Regions from separate parts of the Homo sapiens genome. Here all the other regions are linked to region 1. Evidence: promoter capture Hi-C in 16 types of primary human blood cells and fetal thymus (Javierre and others, 2016). All regions are on one chromosome and are shown on one strand. Each heading gives the region's core, a stretch centred on a gene start or on the middle of the fragment in contact. The rest is flanking DNA. Distances are from core to core; before and after follow the strand shown.

The links. Contacts are between HindIII fragments. The CHiCAGO score rates a contact against its expected background, and 5 or more counts as called.
Region 2: a fragment that was not itself captured here is called in contact with the fragment with the promoter of STX2 in region 1 in 4 of 17 cell types (erythroblasts, endothelial precursors, monocytes and 1 more); the score reaches 6.4 in erythroblasts.
Region 3: a contact is called between a fragment that was not itself captured here and the fragment with the promoter of STX2 in region 1, in 1 of 17 cell types (monocytes). The highest score is 5.0, in monocytes.

What each region holds. Positions count from the first base shown.
Region 1 is chr12:130,836,186-130,841,191 of GRCh38, reverse strand. STX2 (syntaxin 2) reads left to right here and starts at 1,942. Exons shown (of 11, transcript NM_194356.4): 1 at 1,942-2,122. The coding sequence starts at 2,093. RefSeq lists silencers at 1,739-2,248, 2,319-2,378. The HindIII fragment of the contact is 18,553 bases long and covers 1-2,944 here.
Region 2 is chr12:131,776,066-131,781,071 of GRCh38, reverse strand. It overlaps SFSWAP (splicing factor SWAP), which reads right to left. Exons shown (of 18, transcript NM_004592.4): 14 at 2,742-3,007. Among named protein-coding and RNA genes, the nearest start is that of MMP17, 50 kb to the left of the region's middle. The HindIII fragment of the contact is 4,700 bases long and covers 729-5,006 here.
Region 3 is chr12:131,607,412-131,612,417 of GRCh38, reverse strand. No RefSeq gene overlaps it. Among named protein-coding and RNA genes, the nearest start is that of LINC02414, 38 kb to the left of the region's middle. RefSeq lists an enhancer at 4,584-4,773. The HindIII fragment of the contact is 180 bases long and covers 2,210-2,389 here.

The sequences.
Region 1 (5,006 bases), core at 693-3,192:
AATTCCCACAACGATTATTCACAACTTCATTTTTTTTCTCTGGCAGGATAAGGAAAGTTTTGAGGTTGGGCATGGTGGGCTCATGTCTGTGGTCCCTGTGCTTTTGGAGGCTGAGGTGGGAGGATTACTTGAGCCCAGGAGTTCAAGGCGGCAGTGGACTATGACCATGCCACTGCACTCCAGTCTGGGAGACAGAATAAGACTCTGTCTCAAACAAACAAACAAACAAACAAAAAGTTTTGGTTGCCAATTCAACACCATCCAGCTGCTGCCAATATTATCATATGTTTTTGAAAAATCCACTGGGAGAGAGGGAGAAACGAGGGAGGGCCCAGTATTTACCAGAGAGGGAGAATTAAAATGGTGGTGGCAGAGGCAAGAAGGCCGAAAGAAAAGCACTTGCCTGTTGCGGGGTCCAGGAGGCATTCTGGTGGGGAAGTTCAGGATATGGAGAGAAAAAACATATCTTTTTTTTTTTTTTGGAGACGGAGTCTCGCTTTACTGTCCAGGCTGGAGTGCAGTGGTGCGATCTTGGCTCACTGCAAGCTCCACCTCCCGGGTTCAAGCAATTCTCATGCATCAGCCTCCTGAGTAGCTGGGATTACAGGTGCCCGCCACCACACTCACCTGGACAACTGGCTGTCAAGACCTTCCATCGGGTAACAGAACCACATCACACCTAGAACCAAGTCCAAAACGTCCTGTTTTTTAATGTGTAGCCTGTTGCTCTCAAGCAGATTTCTTAGCGCTGCCTTCTGGTCAGACCAAAGCCACCTCCTCCAGGAGGCAGTAAAGACTTTAACCTTGTTTAAAAACAAATCTGGCCTTGCCTTCTCCTCCTGGAAGGCAATCTTTGTTTGCCTGGGAGTCTTCGGCTAGCCAGAGAGTAACAGTGTGATTTATGGTGGGGGCTTAGGGTTACATGGATATCACTTAACCAAGAGGCTGAGATCAAGCATGAAAGCAATCAAACAATCAATCAATCATGCACATGCAATGGAGCCCAGTAAACGTTCTGCACACTGTGGCTCAAGTGAGCTTCCCTGGCTGGCAGTACTTCGTGTGTAAGGCCACACATCAGTGCAGGGCAAGTAATGAGGCCTGACTACACAGGGAGAGGACCACGGGAGGACCTTGAAGCTGCACGCCGTAATCCCCAGACTCCCCCTCTGCCCTTCTTCCTTGGCTGATGTTAATCCGTATCATTTTCCTGCTAAGAAACCATAGTTGTGAGTACAGTAGTTTTTAGTGTATTCTGTGATTCCTTCTAGCAAATTATGGAACTTGAAGGTGGTTTTGGAAACCGCCAGAATTTGCCGTTGGTGTCAGAGGTGATAATGGTCTTGGGGACTGTTCCCCCAACCTGGGTAGTTCACCTAAGCTCCTGCACCTTCATGACGACCTCTCTGCCAGTTCCGTGCCCATGCCCTTACTTTCTTTTCTCATCTATCATTTATTTGTCTGTGTCTGTATTGCCTGTTTCTCCTGCCAGAATGGTATCCCAGGGCTGGGCCTGCGGACGCTCTTCCCGTTACCGCCCCCTGCCGTGTTATGCTCCGTAAGCATCATGTGTGGTACACGATCTCTTCTCCTTCATTCACACCCGAGGCTGCGCGTGGACCCTTAAAGAGAAGGTTCGGCATATGTATTACCCAAAGCTGCACCCAGCACATTCCGGGAGCTTTGCTCTTTTGTCACTATTCGTTGAATGCTCTATATTTTGATAAATAAAACAATGAGTGTGAAAGCATAAAAGCAGATCAAGGGACAAACAGCACGTGTAGCGGAACTGCCAGCCTGGGGCTCGGCCGGACCCCGCCCCTCCCCGCCTAGGCCCCGCCCCCAGGCCCCGCCCCTCCGGGCTCCCGCTGGAAAGCGCTGCCGCCGTGTGGGTGGGTGCGGGGCGCGGCGCGGGCCGGGCATGCGCAGAGCGCGCGGGGCGCGGTTGCCGTGGCAGCGCCGGCTCCAGGGAGGGCTGCTGGCGCCGGGCCGGGACCGCGGGGCCTGAGGCGGAGACCGGAGAGCCCGAGGCCCGGCCGGAGGCAGCTCGGGACAGGCTTGAGCGGCGGGGCGCGCTGCCCGGCCGGCGGGGATGCGGGACCGGCTGCCAGACCTGACGGCGGTGAGCGGCAGCCGCGGGTAGCGGTTCAGGCCCGGCCGGGGCGGCGTCTGGAGGGCGGGCGGGGGCTCGGGGCGTCTTGGGCGGGGCTCCGGGAGGGTCCCCAGGGCGGGGATCTCCGGCGTTCTGGGGCGGGGGCTGCGGGCAGGGTCTCAGGGAGTCCTGAGCGGGGACTGCTGGTGGGGTCCCCAGGGCGGGGGTCCCGGGAGTCCTAGGGTGGGGGCTCCGGGCGGGGTCCCCAGGGCTTCCTGGGCGGAGTCCTCAGGGCGGGTTGGGGCAGGAGGAGGGAGCGGGGAAGGTCCCGGCCTCGACCCCCTCTTCGAGCGTGGCTCCCTGTCCGTCACTCCGCTTGGCGGATTGTATCTGGCGCTTACCCAGCCGGAGCCCACTGGCCTAACTGTGGTCCGCCCCACGGGGTCCCCGCAGCTGGCGTCAGCCCCGGGGAGCAGGCCGGGTCCTCTTGGTCGCTGCTTTATCCCTGGGGCTTCACAAAGGACTGTGCACCAAGCGGGAGGCAACAGATGGGTGTGAAATGTGGGCACCTTAGAGTGCTGGGTGCTTGGGGTGGGGCGAGCGCGAACAGCAGCTTGTGTCTGATCTCCCAGTAGTTTGCTTTGGAAACTGGGACCGTGTGTTGACTCTGAACGCACCTTACGCGCCCAGCAGCCGGGCACACAGCAAGTTACTGTTTACTTTAGCAAGGGAAAAGCAGGTCACTAAAAATTTTGGAAGGATTTCGATGCATTCTACACGTGTAAAGGTGACAGGACTGTGCATGGTGCAGTGACAGCGGAATGATAGTGATGGTCGTGCACTTTCCAAGCTTGTCTAACCCAGGACGGCTTAGGCCAGCAGAAGTAGTTATGACTTTTTCCCTTTACAATACAGGTACTAATTCATGCTACGTGTGTGCACAGATAGAGCCTCTGGTCTCTAAATTGTTGGCAGCCTCAGAACAGGGGTGCTAAGGCCCACAGCCCTACGACACCCACTGCATGTAATGAATTATTCTCTCTCCTCTGCTGCTAGAATGGAGCTGTTATGTACCCCCGAGTGGGAGAATAGAGAAAAGAGCCACTTAAATCATTATCTGTGTTCTGTGGTTCAGATGAGGAGCTCTGGTTGAGAAAGGCAATGATTTCATCCTTAGGATCATGGAAATTATGCTTTATATTCATTCCAAGGAAGTTTCTTCACGGTGATTTTTCCTTTTTTATTAATGGACAAATATTCCCTGTGTTCCGCAGATCAATATCATCTTAAACACAGCAAATTATAGTTGTGTTGTCTTGCCCGATGGATTATCTTTCAGTGCCGTGTAGTAGGAGCTCAGGTATTTATTTAATGAAGAAAAGCTGTGGCTCACTCCTGTAATCCCAGCAGTCTGGGAGATCAGGGTGGGGGCATCACTTGAGCCCAGGTATTGGAGACCAGCTTGGGCAACACAGGGAGACACTGTTTCTCGAAAAAAATTAAAAAATTAGCAGGAGGCCAGTCGCAGTGGCTCATGCCTGTAATCCCAGCACTTTGGGAGGCCGAGTTGGGTGGACCACTTGAGGTCAGGAGTTGGAGACTAGCCTGGCCAACATGGCAAAACCCCGTTTCTACTAAAATAGCCGGATGTCATGGCGCACACCTGTAGTCCCAGCTACTCTGGAGGCTGCGGCAGGAGCATCGCTTGAATCCAGGAGGCGGAGGTTGCAGAAAGCCGAGATTGTGCCACTGTACTCCAGTCTGGGCAACAGAAAGAGACTCTGTTTCAGAAAAACCAACAAAACAAAGCACGCACAAAAAAACTATCCAGGTGTGACTCGCACCTGTAGTCCTTGGTACTCAGGAGGCTAAGCTAGGAGGATTCCTTGAGCCCAGGAGATAGAGGCTGCAGTGAGCCATGATTGTGCCATGCCACTGCACTCCCGCCTGGGTGACAGAGTGAGACATTGTCTCATAAAAAAAAAAAAAAAAAGCTCAATGTCATTGAACGTGAGAGCTGTGACTATTTTGGCAAAATACAGCCAAATTTATATGTTGGGGAATCGTGAGAAAGTACGTTTTCTTGGCTTGAATAGCAAAAAGCAAATAAGGCAATTATTTGTCACTCAGTTTCTATATATCCAAACCCTTCCTGAAACAGTAGAACATGTCAATCAGTTTTGTTCTAGAACGGCAGAGCTAGAAGTCAGCTCATCTACTTCAATACCATCCTGCTTTAGACACAGCAGCTGAGCAGTCAGAGAGTATATCCGTGGAAGTTTCCACTCATGGAGTTTCTCATCTTGGGCAAATAATTTTTAAATCTCTCAAAACTTTTTCTTGTACGTGAAATGGGGACAGTGGTATCTCTCTTGTCCACCTCATAGAGGGAGTTATGAAGCATAAAATTATCTAATGTGTGAAGCTCTGGGAGAAGGTGGGAGGGAGCAAGTGCTATGTAATTATAAGTGTGATTAATGTTTACCAGATTTTTTGTTTTTAGGGAGTTATAAAAAGCAGCCTTCTGGCTGGGCACAGTGGCTTTCACTTGTAGTCCCAGCACTTTGGGAGGCTGAGGTGGGCAGATCATTTGAGCTCAGGAGTTCAAGACCAGCCTGGGCAACATGGCAAAACCCTGTCTTTACAAAAAACATACAAAAACTCAGCCAGGTGTAGTGGTGCATGCCTGTGGTTCCAGCTACTCAGGAGGCTGAGGTGGGAAGATTGCTTGAGTCCAGGAGGCGGAGGTTGCAGTGAGCCAAGATTTTGCCACTGCCCTCCAGCCTGGGCAACAGACAGATTGAGACCCTGTCTCAAAAAAAGAGAAAAGAACAACCTTCTCCCTAGTATAAAATAGTAAGTTAAAACTGAATTTGAAGTTTAATAACTTTTAATATTTAAAAACCCATCTTAA
Region 2 (5,006 bases), core at 1,829-4,328, 940 kb before region 1:
AAACCTGAAATTCCAAGTGTTAGGTGAAGCCTTTCAGCTCTGAATATGCCAATGTGGGAAAAGCTGGGGGCCACGGCATCACCTGTCTTTAGAGGTGAATGGTAGGATACCCGGAAATATCAGACATCACATCCGCTGTGTTTGCAAAAACTCCCCACATGAAAGCTGAGCTAATTTCTTACGCTAAAGAAACACCATGAACAGCTCTTACAATGATCGGTCCCCCAAGGTTTGGGATTTAGGAAGGAATTATGCTTCCTTTTGAGCCTGTAGAAAAGGAAAATTGGGAAGAATTTTACTGAATGTGGTTACTAGGAGGGCTTGTTTATGCCTATCTTCAGCTATGTAATGTCGTAAGAAACATATTCAAGTGGGAAATTTTTTATTTTAATCATTTAATTGCATTTAGAGGCAAGGTCTCGCTCTGTCACCCAGGCTGGAGTGCAGTGGCGTGATCATAGCTCACTGCAGCCTCAAACTCCTGAGCTCAGCTCAAGCAATCCTTCCACCTCAGACTCTACGCTTGAGCTCAGGAGTTCAAAGCATCCACTGCCATGCCTGGCTAATTAAAAAAAAATATTTTGTAGAGATAGGTTTTCACTATGTTGCCAAAGCTAGTCTTGAACTCCAGGCCTCAAAGTGATCCTCTCATCTTGGCTTCCCAAAGCACTGGAATTTCAGGTGTGAGCCATTGTGCCTGGCCTCAAATGAGAAATTTTTAAAAAGCTTCGATATACAATACAAGTTCCTGGGAGCCTTCAAAAATTGAAGATATATTAGCAAAACTGTTCATTTGATTAGAAAATAGCAAGGTTTCTTTTTTGCGTGTATAAGGGTATGAAGTGATGAAACGTTTAAAACACTCGCAAAAATGTAGAGTGAAAGATCAAATTGATTTATCATGGAGTCAAATCCAATTTCACTGCAGAGGAGTGTAAATGCTTGTCAAACTTTAAGTGTTGGCCAGGGTAAAAATAAGGAAAGCAGGCTGGGCACAGTGGCTCACGCCTGTAACCCCAGCACTGTGGGAGGCTGAGGTGGGTGGGTCACCTGAGGTCAGGAGTTCGAGACCAGCCTGGCCAACATGGTGAAACCCAATCTCTACTAAAAAAACAAAATTAGCTGGGCGTGGTGGCACATGCCTGTAATCCCAGCTACTTGGGAGGCTGAGGCAGAAGAATCACTTGAACCTGGGAGGCAGAGGTTGCAGTGAGCCAAGATCGTGCCATTGCACTCCCACCTGGGAAACAAGAGCAAAAACTCCGTCTCTAAATAAATAAATGAATAAATAAATAAATAAGTAAAGAAAGCAAGCATATTGTTTTTAGGATATATTCAGAGAGGCAAATGTGTAAAATTACACTTAAAAAGCCCGTAAAGCTCCCAAGGCATGTGTATTTTTCCCACAGAAACATAAGAGCTAACACCAATTCCAGAAGAAAAACTAGATGAGCACAGTCAGTGCGGCGTTAGAGAAACCGAGGAGAGTCAGCCAGTGTTCAGCAGCGAACCCAAGGTGTAACGGGGTTCTGAAAACAGGGCAAGCTGTGCCAACCTCCTGTAGGTCAGCCACTGTTTTGTTTTTAAAAAGTGGTTTTCACCAAGATGTAAATTCTGTGACTCTTAAATGTTTTTACATTTTTAATTTCTGCTGCCAGAAATGTTAACCTGCTTTCTGAAAAACTGGCTCCTCATCAAGAAGGCCTTTGGTTTAATAGTGACTCCTGGAGGGAGGGTGGAGAGGAAACATTCTGCACCAGCGCCGCCCTCTTCACACACACCCACCCGCGCCGCCCTCTTCACACACACTCACCCGCGCCGCCCTCTTCACACACGCTCACCCGCGCCGCCCTCTTCACACACACTCATCCGCGCTGCCCTCTTCACACACACTCACCGTCGCTGCATCTCTGCACACACGCTCACCGGTGCCACACGAAGTGTGTGCAGAGTGTGGCACCGGTGAGTGTATGTGCAGAGTGCGGTGCCGGTGAGTGCGTGTGCAGAGCAGAGAATCCAAACCCAGAACCAGTGCTAAAGAGTTCTCCTGTCTTGCAACTTTACACATTTGAGACAAATTAGCATGGGAAACTTCACTTATACAAATAAAACAAAAGACCCCCAGCACACCACCCTGTGAATCTTTCACACAATCGGCAAATGTGGTAGGCTTGCTTCCAGGAACCATTAGAATTTAAACAAACCAATTTTTAAAAACCTGGCAGTAGTTTATGAACTTTGAAAAGTTAAGTATAGGCCTGCGCGGTGGCTTAGGCCTGTAATCCCAGCACTCTGGGAGGCCAAGGTGGGTGGATTACCTGAGGTCAGGAGTTTAAGACCAGCCTGGCCGACACGGTGAAACCCCGTCTCTACTAAAAATACAAAAATTAGCCAGGCGTGGTGGTGGGCACCTGTAATCCCAGCTACTCAGGAGGCTGAGGCAGGAGAATCACTTGAACCTGGGAAGCGGAGGTTGCAGTGAGCCAAGATCGCACCACTGCACTCTAGCCTGGGCAACAAGAACAAAACTCTGTCTCAAAAAAGAAAAAGTTAAGTATAAAACAAACAAAAATCTGAAAAAGATCTTACTTGGACTTGCAGGGCACACATGCACATGCATACACGCGTCTGCTTAATGAAAGCGGCACTGATTTTAAACGTTCTACCTAGCTCTACTGGGTGTCCTGTGAAGGACATGGGGGTCATGAGGGTACCAGAGGTGCTGCCCCCTTCACACCCACCTCGACCGCCGCACTGTCCGATAGGCACTGGGAAGAGAATGCTTTGCTTTTGAGTGTGATCTAGACCTGGACTTGGATGACGAATGGTACTTGGGAGAACGTGATCTTGTTCGAGATCTTTTTTTGTGCTTTTTCTTTTTCTTTTCTTTCTCTTCTTCTCTCGGTGGATCTTTGCTTTTGCTCGAAGGCCTATCGGGTGGTTTAACTTCTAAAGTAGGCAGAGGCCTGCCTCCAGTCAGTAGAGGGCAGGGCGTAGTGCTGGATTCCTAAGAATAAAAGGAAAATCTGGGTGTTAACAGGGAAAACAGAACATTGAAGATGTATATCTATAAAATTTCAACTTTGGGCCCCTCACACCAACAAACACAGCAACCATCTCTTAGAAAGTCTCCTCCTGTGGCTATCCAGAGTGACCTCCTTGTCACCTCCCAGGATGCAAAAGGAGAAAGTGAACCCTCTGGTTCCCGAGCATTTCCACAGGCAGCACTCTCTTCCCAGCCCCCAGGCTGTGGACAGCCGGAGCCAACAAGAGGAGCACAGTATTAGAGTATTAGAGATGCTACGCTGGGAAAAAATACGTTCCTTTTTAGTTCACCCATTGTGGAAGTCAGTGTGGCCATTCCTCAGGGATCTAGAACCAGAAATACCATTTGACCCAGCCATCCCATTACTGGGTATATACCCAAAGGATTGTAAATCATGCTGCTATAAAGACACATGCACACGTATGTTTATTGTGGCACTCTTCACAATAGCAAAGATTTCGAACCAACGCAAACGTCCAACAATGATAGACTGGATTAAGAAAATGCGGCACATATACACCATGGAATACTATGCAGCCATAAAAAATGATGAGTTCATGTCCTTTGTAGGGACATGGATGAAGCTGGAAACCATCATTCTCAGCAAACTATCACCAAGGACAAAAAACCAAACACCGCATGTTCTCACTCATAGGTGGGAACTGAACAACGAGAACACATGGTCACAGGAAGGGGAACATCACACACCGGGGCCTGTTGTGGGGTGGGGTGAGCGGGGAGGGATAGCATTAGGAGATATACCTAACGTTAAATGATGAGTTAATGGGTGCAGCACACCAACATGGCACATGTATACATATGTAACTAACCTGCACGTTGTGCACATGTACCCTAAAACTTAAAGTATAATAAAAAAAAATAGTTCTTAAGGAAAAACAAAAAAAACAGTTTTAACTACCAGAGGAGAGATTCCTCAAACCTCCGATGTTAGGTTTTTAAATGAGTATCGGCACTACTCTGACAATAATTTTTAAAGAAGGTCTAGGCTCCCCTTTGATGTTTTAAAACCTCTCCATCTGAGTGTTACATACATACAGAAGAGCATATGAATCTTCAATGCATGCTGACACATTTCCACCACAGCGCATCGGAACCAGATCAGGAGACAGCACCCTTCAACAGCATAGGCCTGCAGCCTGCCCCTCTTTACCCAGAAAGCTCACTCTCTCCTCACTTCAAGTGAATTTTAAATTATAGCTGTTAAACATTTCACACCTTTAGACACAGTGAAAAATCTGCAATTTATCCTTTGTGCCTCGAAGAAATTCAGGTTAGGTGCTGGGGTGGGACCCAGTCTCCCAGGCTGCCCCCAGCTGCTCCCCGGGGAGAGCTCCAGCCCAGCCCGCGGCAGTGTGCGCAGGACGGCATCTGTGAAAGGCAAAGTGGTAAGGGGGCTTCCCTCCCTTCTTTCCTCTCCTTAGGTCCGCTGTGGCAAGGCCAACTGGCTGCGGGAAAACACTGTAGAAACGATTCTTCTACAGTTATGCTTCTTGCTTTGGCTTTGAGATCAAAAGCAATTCAGCAGAGCCCTGGTGGGGCAGGCCCCAATTTAAGATGAGTTTCCACTTGAGCTGGCTGCTTTATGATGGCACGGTGATTTCTCAGCCCTCTGTTCAGCCTCCTTGCTGTTTCCGTTTACACTGTGCTCTCTAATGCCCCTCCCTGGTTGTGGGTGTGCGGCGGGCAAGAGGGCAGGGATGAATTCCTCCTTGGGATCTGATGGCCGCTATGAGGTTCATCTTTAAGTCTCTGCCTAAATTATCTCCAGGGACATTTTGGCAAAAAAATCCACTTTACTGTGGGACAGTTCTTATCAAAAAGGTCTTTCTCATTTAAAATTCTGTTAAGTGTAACAATATTTTTCAGGTCAAACTTTTAAATATTTTATTATTTTTGTTTGTTTTGAGGCAGAGTCTTGCTCTGTTGCCGGGGTGGAGTG
Region 3 (5,006 bases), core at 1,050-3,549, 770 kb before region 1:
TGTGCCCTTCCCTCTGCTCCATGTTATCAGCACAGTGTGGATGAGTGTGGGTCCCGAAGTGCAAAATGAGAAAATCTTCCCCCAGTGCTGTAGCTCCACCCAGCCCAGCGGTAACCGGAGAGCCAGCGGCCCTGCAGCAGGACCCTAATGAGAACTGCGCCTGTGGCAGGAAGGACACCTTGGGCTGTGTGTACACGTGTAGACAGGACACGGGGACATAGACGCTGGATTCCTGCTAACATCACAGCCTCAGGCCCCAGGCAAGAGAGGGTCAGGTCAGGTCCCCAAATGAGCAATTAGAGAGGTTACTTTCAAGTGGAGAGCCAGTGGCGAAGTAACTTAATTCTGCAAAGTGTCGTGACTCAAGACTCAGGCAGGTGGAAGGAGCGGGTGGGCGGCTCACAGCGGAGTGGGGAAGGGGCAGGATCCCCACGATGTCAGCGGCCAGGTGGGGTGGAGACCGAGGGCAGGACCCCACCCCAGGGGATTTTTCCAGGGTCTCGACAGCACCACAGGCTCACCCCATCACGATTTGGAATACGTGGCCCTGGGTTTCCTCTGGGCTGGTGGGCCATTTGGTGGGGCACAGAGCCGGAAACAAGTGCACCATGGATCATGTGGCATGGCTGCAGGGAGGACAGGGCCTGGGGGGCACAGAGCCAGGGCACAGGGAGCCTGGGCCTTCTTGTGCAGGTGGGTGGGGCCATGCTGGGCAGGGGGAGCAGGCACCCCTGCCTGTACAATGGATTGGCACAAAGGACCCCTGAGTGGACTCAGCCCACGTCAGAGCCGTTTCCGGGCAGTTGGGTGCAGGCTGGATGGAACCCCACACACCACGTGTGGACTCAGCCCACGTCAGAGCCGTGTCCGGGCAGCTGGGTGCAGGCTGGATGGAACCCCACACACCCCGTGTGGCTGAAGGGTCTCTGGTTGGCTTCTCTCTGCCCCAGCCCACGTGAGGCACAGTCAGCATGAACTGTGGGGCCTCCGCTCTGCTGAGCCCCAGGGCTAGGTCTGCAGAAAGCAGAGGCTCATTTAGACCCCAAACACCCAACTACCCAAGGCACCAAGACTGGTTGGCTGCAGAGGAACTGAGACCCAGAGTTATTTTTAATGAGTGAAATAGAGGAGACGGCTTCGTCTCCGTCTTCCTGGCCCAGACACTATCTCCCTCCCATCTCCACTGTGCACACCCGAGCCGCAGGCACCATGCCCTCATTCCACAGGCACTCCAGCCTGCCCTGTGAAGGCTGCTGCTGCTGTAGCAGGTGCCTTGGAGGCTCTGCCCTGCCCACATGCCGCTCCTGTTCCAAGAAACAGCCCACAGCCCGACCCTGCAAACTAGCCAGCCTGCAGTGCGGCCCACATCTCCAGGAATCTGCTGTCCACTGGCGCCTTCCGCCACACCTCCGCTGTTCTTGAGAGCATCCTTGGGCTTCAACTTCCCCATACTGTGCTGCAGATGAAGTTAGTTTCCTTGGGAAGAGACCTGGAGCCCTCACTTTTACCCTCCCCTGGGCAAAATCCCTGAGCCTCCACTCTGGAGCTGGAACTGTGTGTAGGGACATTGCCCGCTTCCTGCCAGGTGTCACCATCCTGTCCCATCTTAGGGACCCAGGACTCTATCCAGCAGGCTACGGTGTGGGAAGGGATGCTGTTTAAACAAGAAGGCAGAGGAGCTGGCAAGCGGGCCCAAGGGGTGTCCAGAGAAATGGGAGGAAAACCAGGAAAGTTTAATGACAGAAAAGGCAAGAAAAGAGAGGGTGCCAGGAAGAGGAGGCCGGCTGCCCCCGCTCTCCCTTGCAGGTGGCTTTGTCATCTTTCCTCTGCTGGTCTGACTTCTCTGCCCCTCTGTCCATGAGGCAGAAGGTGCTCCCCACCCAGCACACAGCCCCGAGATTCCTCATATCTTGCTTACGAGGCAGGCTCAACCCGAAACAAGACTCTTGGCGCCCAGGCCAGGTGGCCAGGGAGAGGCCTGCTTGTGTCAGAGGTCATCAAAGGTCCAGTCAACTGTGCCCTGGAGGGTGTGGCCTCCTCATAGACAGGTGGGATCTGGGACCACTGCGGGCAGCCACTCTCCAGCTCCTTCAGACGAACCTGCTCCAACGGACCCAGTGTTGCCATGGGCTATAAAACGGGGGACACTCCTGTCCCACTGCAGCTCTGCAGGCTCTTGATTAATTTCTGAGGTTGACCATCAGAAGCTTCACATTCGTGGACGAAGACAGAGAGGGCCTCCACCAACAGGGCTACAATGTTGTCTTTTCATGCCTTGTTCCCTACCCGTTGGGCAGGTGAAGCCACGGCTGTTTCTTTCATGCCGCTCTTAAGGCTATGGGAACACAAGGCCCACATCTCCTGTTTTGTAGCTGAGTTCTCTAAAGCTTTCCATGATGGCCCCACCGCCCTTCTCTCATGATCAAAGGTGCCAGCGTCACCAGCCGCTTCCCTGGGATGCCCTGCATTGCTGCCAAGGAGCCAGGGATGGCTTGGGGCCGCCTTCCCACCAAAACCCCACAGCGAGGTCCCCAGAGTCTCTCATGGTTTGCTGCAGGCAGCCACATTCCTGCCTCCAAGTACTGATTTTTGAGACAACAGAGCACAGCATTAGGCTTCAGATGGATTAGCTAGGTGCGCTAGCCTTCCTCAAAAAGCTGCTGGAACAGACAGTATTGCATTCATGTTAATGGCTGAGTAGTACCCCTTGGTGTATAGACACCACGTTTTCTTTATCCATTCAGTAGCCGATGGGCAGCAACTCGGACGGAGCTGGGGGCATTATTCTAAGTGAAGGAACACAGGCGTGGAAAACCAAAACCACATGTTCTCACTTGTCAGAGGGAGCTAGGCTGACTACGCGAAGGCGTACGGAGTGATGTAATGGGCTCTAGAGGCTCAGAAGGAGGAGGGCGGGATGGGGCTAGGGATAAAAAGACCTACACGCTAGGACAATGGACACCCCTTGGGTGACGGGGGCACTAGAATCTCAGAATTCACCACCACACAATTCATGCATGTAACAAAAACCACCAAAATGCTATCGAAGTAGAAAAAAAACCTGTAAAATACAAAAAACAAACCAACTTCTTTTTGTTTGGAAAATCAACAAATTTGATTTTCCTGTTGTGTCTCTGACCACAGCCTGTCTGGCGGGAGGAGTCGGTTGCAGGCTGAGCAGGAAGGGCGGCCCCAACCTCCCCCTGGAGGCCCGTCCTGGAACTGCGTGTTTCTGTTCCCGCAGAACCACAGAAGCCACGTGTCAGAGTGAACATGGGGTGTTGGCTTGGCTCCCCCAAAGATTTTAAAAGCAGAAACTCTCCAAGCAAAATATCTGCGTTGTCTATGGTGGAACTTGCCTTAGTGATGTTGCTGCATTCGCCAACACCTGCTCCATATCAAAGACAAAATAGTGGTGAGGAGGTGTGGGGATACGAGAGACAATATCCCAAACTGGGCTTAAACATAAGTGATCACACATGGTGTGGCGCTTTCACATAAATTATGCGCGTTTCCATGGAAACAACGCAGAAATCAGACGAAGGCAGTACATGCCAAATATAAAGTATTTAATTCTAAACAGTAACAGATTTTAAACTGTTTATTCCCAGAATTGCTTCAAATGGTCACATGGCAAAAACAAATGCCATTAATGTGTTTTTGCTTCTCTCTCATTTGTCCATTGCATTGATTTCCTATGAAATGTAAATAAAACAATTAAAACAAAATTGATATCGAATGCAACTGAAGAGAAGTAAAAATCGCAAGCCCCAGTGGTATTTTTAATCAGAGCTAACCCATCATAGATGAAAATTAAGGAAGAATTTATGCTAGGACTGTAATGTTACTAACTGAGGACCTTCAATTCTTTATTCACCTATTTAAATGATCTTTGCTGGACATTTCTAAGAGTGAAATTCTTCATTTACAGTTTCTACCGCTCAATTTTGTAATAAAACAAAAATGTCAGACCATCCAGACACATGAAAGAGCCAAAATGAAGTATCCCACAAAGACTTTTGGAAGGTAGAAAAACAAACAAACAAACACAATTCATCAAAAAAACCCCAACCTACTGATGTTGAGAGAAATCACAAAAACAATCTGAGGATGGATGAATGACAACCAGCCCCTCCTAACCTCCCAACATGGTAACTATGATAAATTACCACCGGTGACAGTGACTCACCCTCCACCACTGCTGGAATCCGTGGCCTATACACAAAAAAGTCTGGAAAACAACTTGAAGGACCATGTGTGTGAGAAAGAAAAGGAATTCTGTGTGTAGGGGAAGATGCCTCTGTAAGGTCTGAACAGCCTTCCTGAAGGCATCCCTGGTGCAGTGTGACCACGGATGACCGCACCCGACCAGCCACTGCATGCAAAGTGAGATCTTATGGCTGTCATACTGAGCATGCACTGAAACCGGTGACCCAACACCATTGGGTCCCTTCCCTGAGGCACCTGTACTCCGTGTGAATACACAAGACACACAAAGGTTGAATTAGTAATCTCATACTGGTGTTGGTATGTTTATAGTTCATAAAATACCTCCGCATCCTTCATGTTTGCTCACAAGTCTGTTTAATATTAAATGAAATCACAGATTCTCAGAACTGGAAGGAACTTCAGAGGACAGCTAATCTGATTTCAACTGACTCAAGACAGGCTTAAAAATAGAAAATGAAACAGAAATTCAAAACAATGAAGACACAGGCAGTACAGGAATAGCTGTCAGTGGATTGTACAAACACTCACTTCTCTTCCTCCTAACTCCCACAGAATCCCCCAGGTAATGTCGGATCCAAAATCTACCTCTATGATTCCACTGAGATTAGGTTGAGATGAGTTAATGCCAGAGTTAAACCGGAATAGAATACCAACTGGCAAGTTTGAGAGGGTGACTGGGAAGAATCTGAGAGGGGAAACAGATGGACGTGGCCCTCCATATCCATAGGCCCCATGTCCTTGGACCTCAGATCAAAAATATTAAAAAATAACCTGGG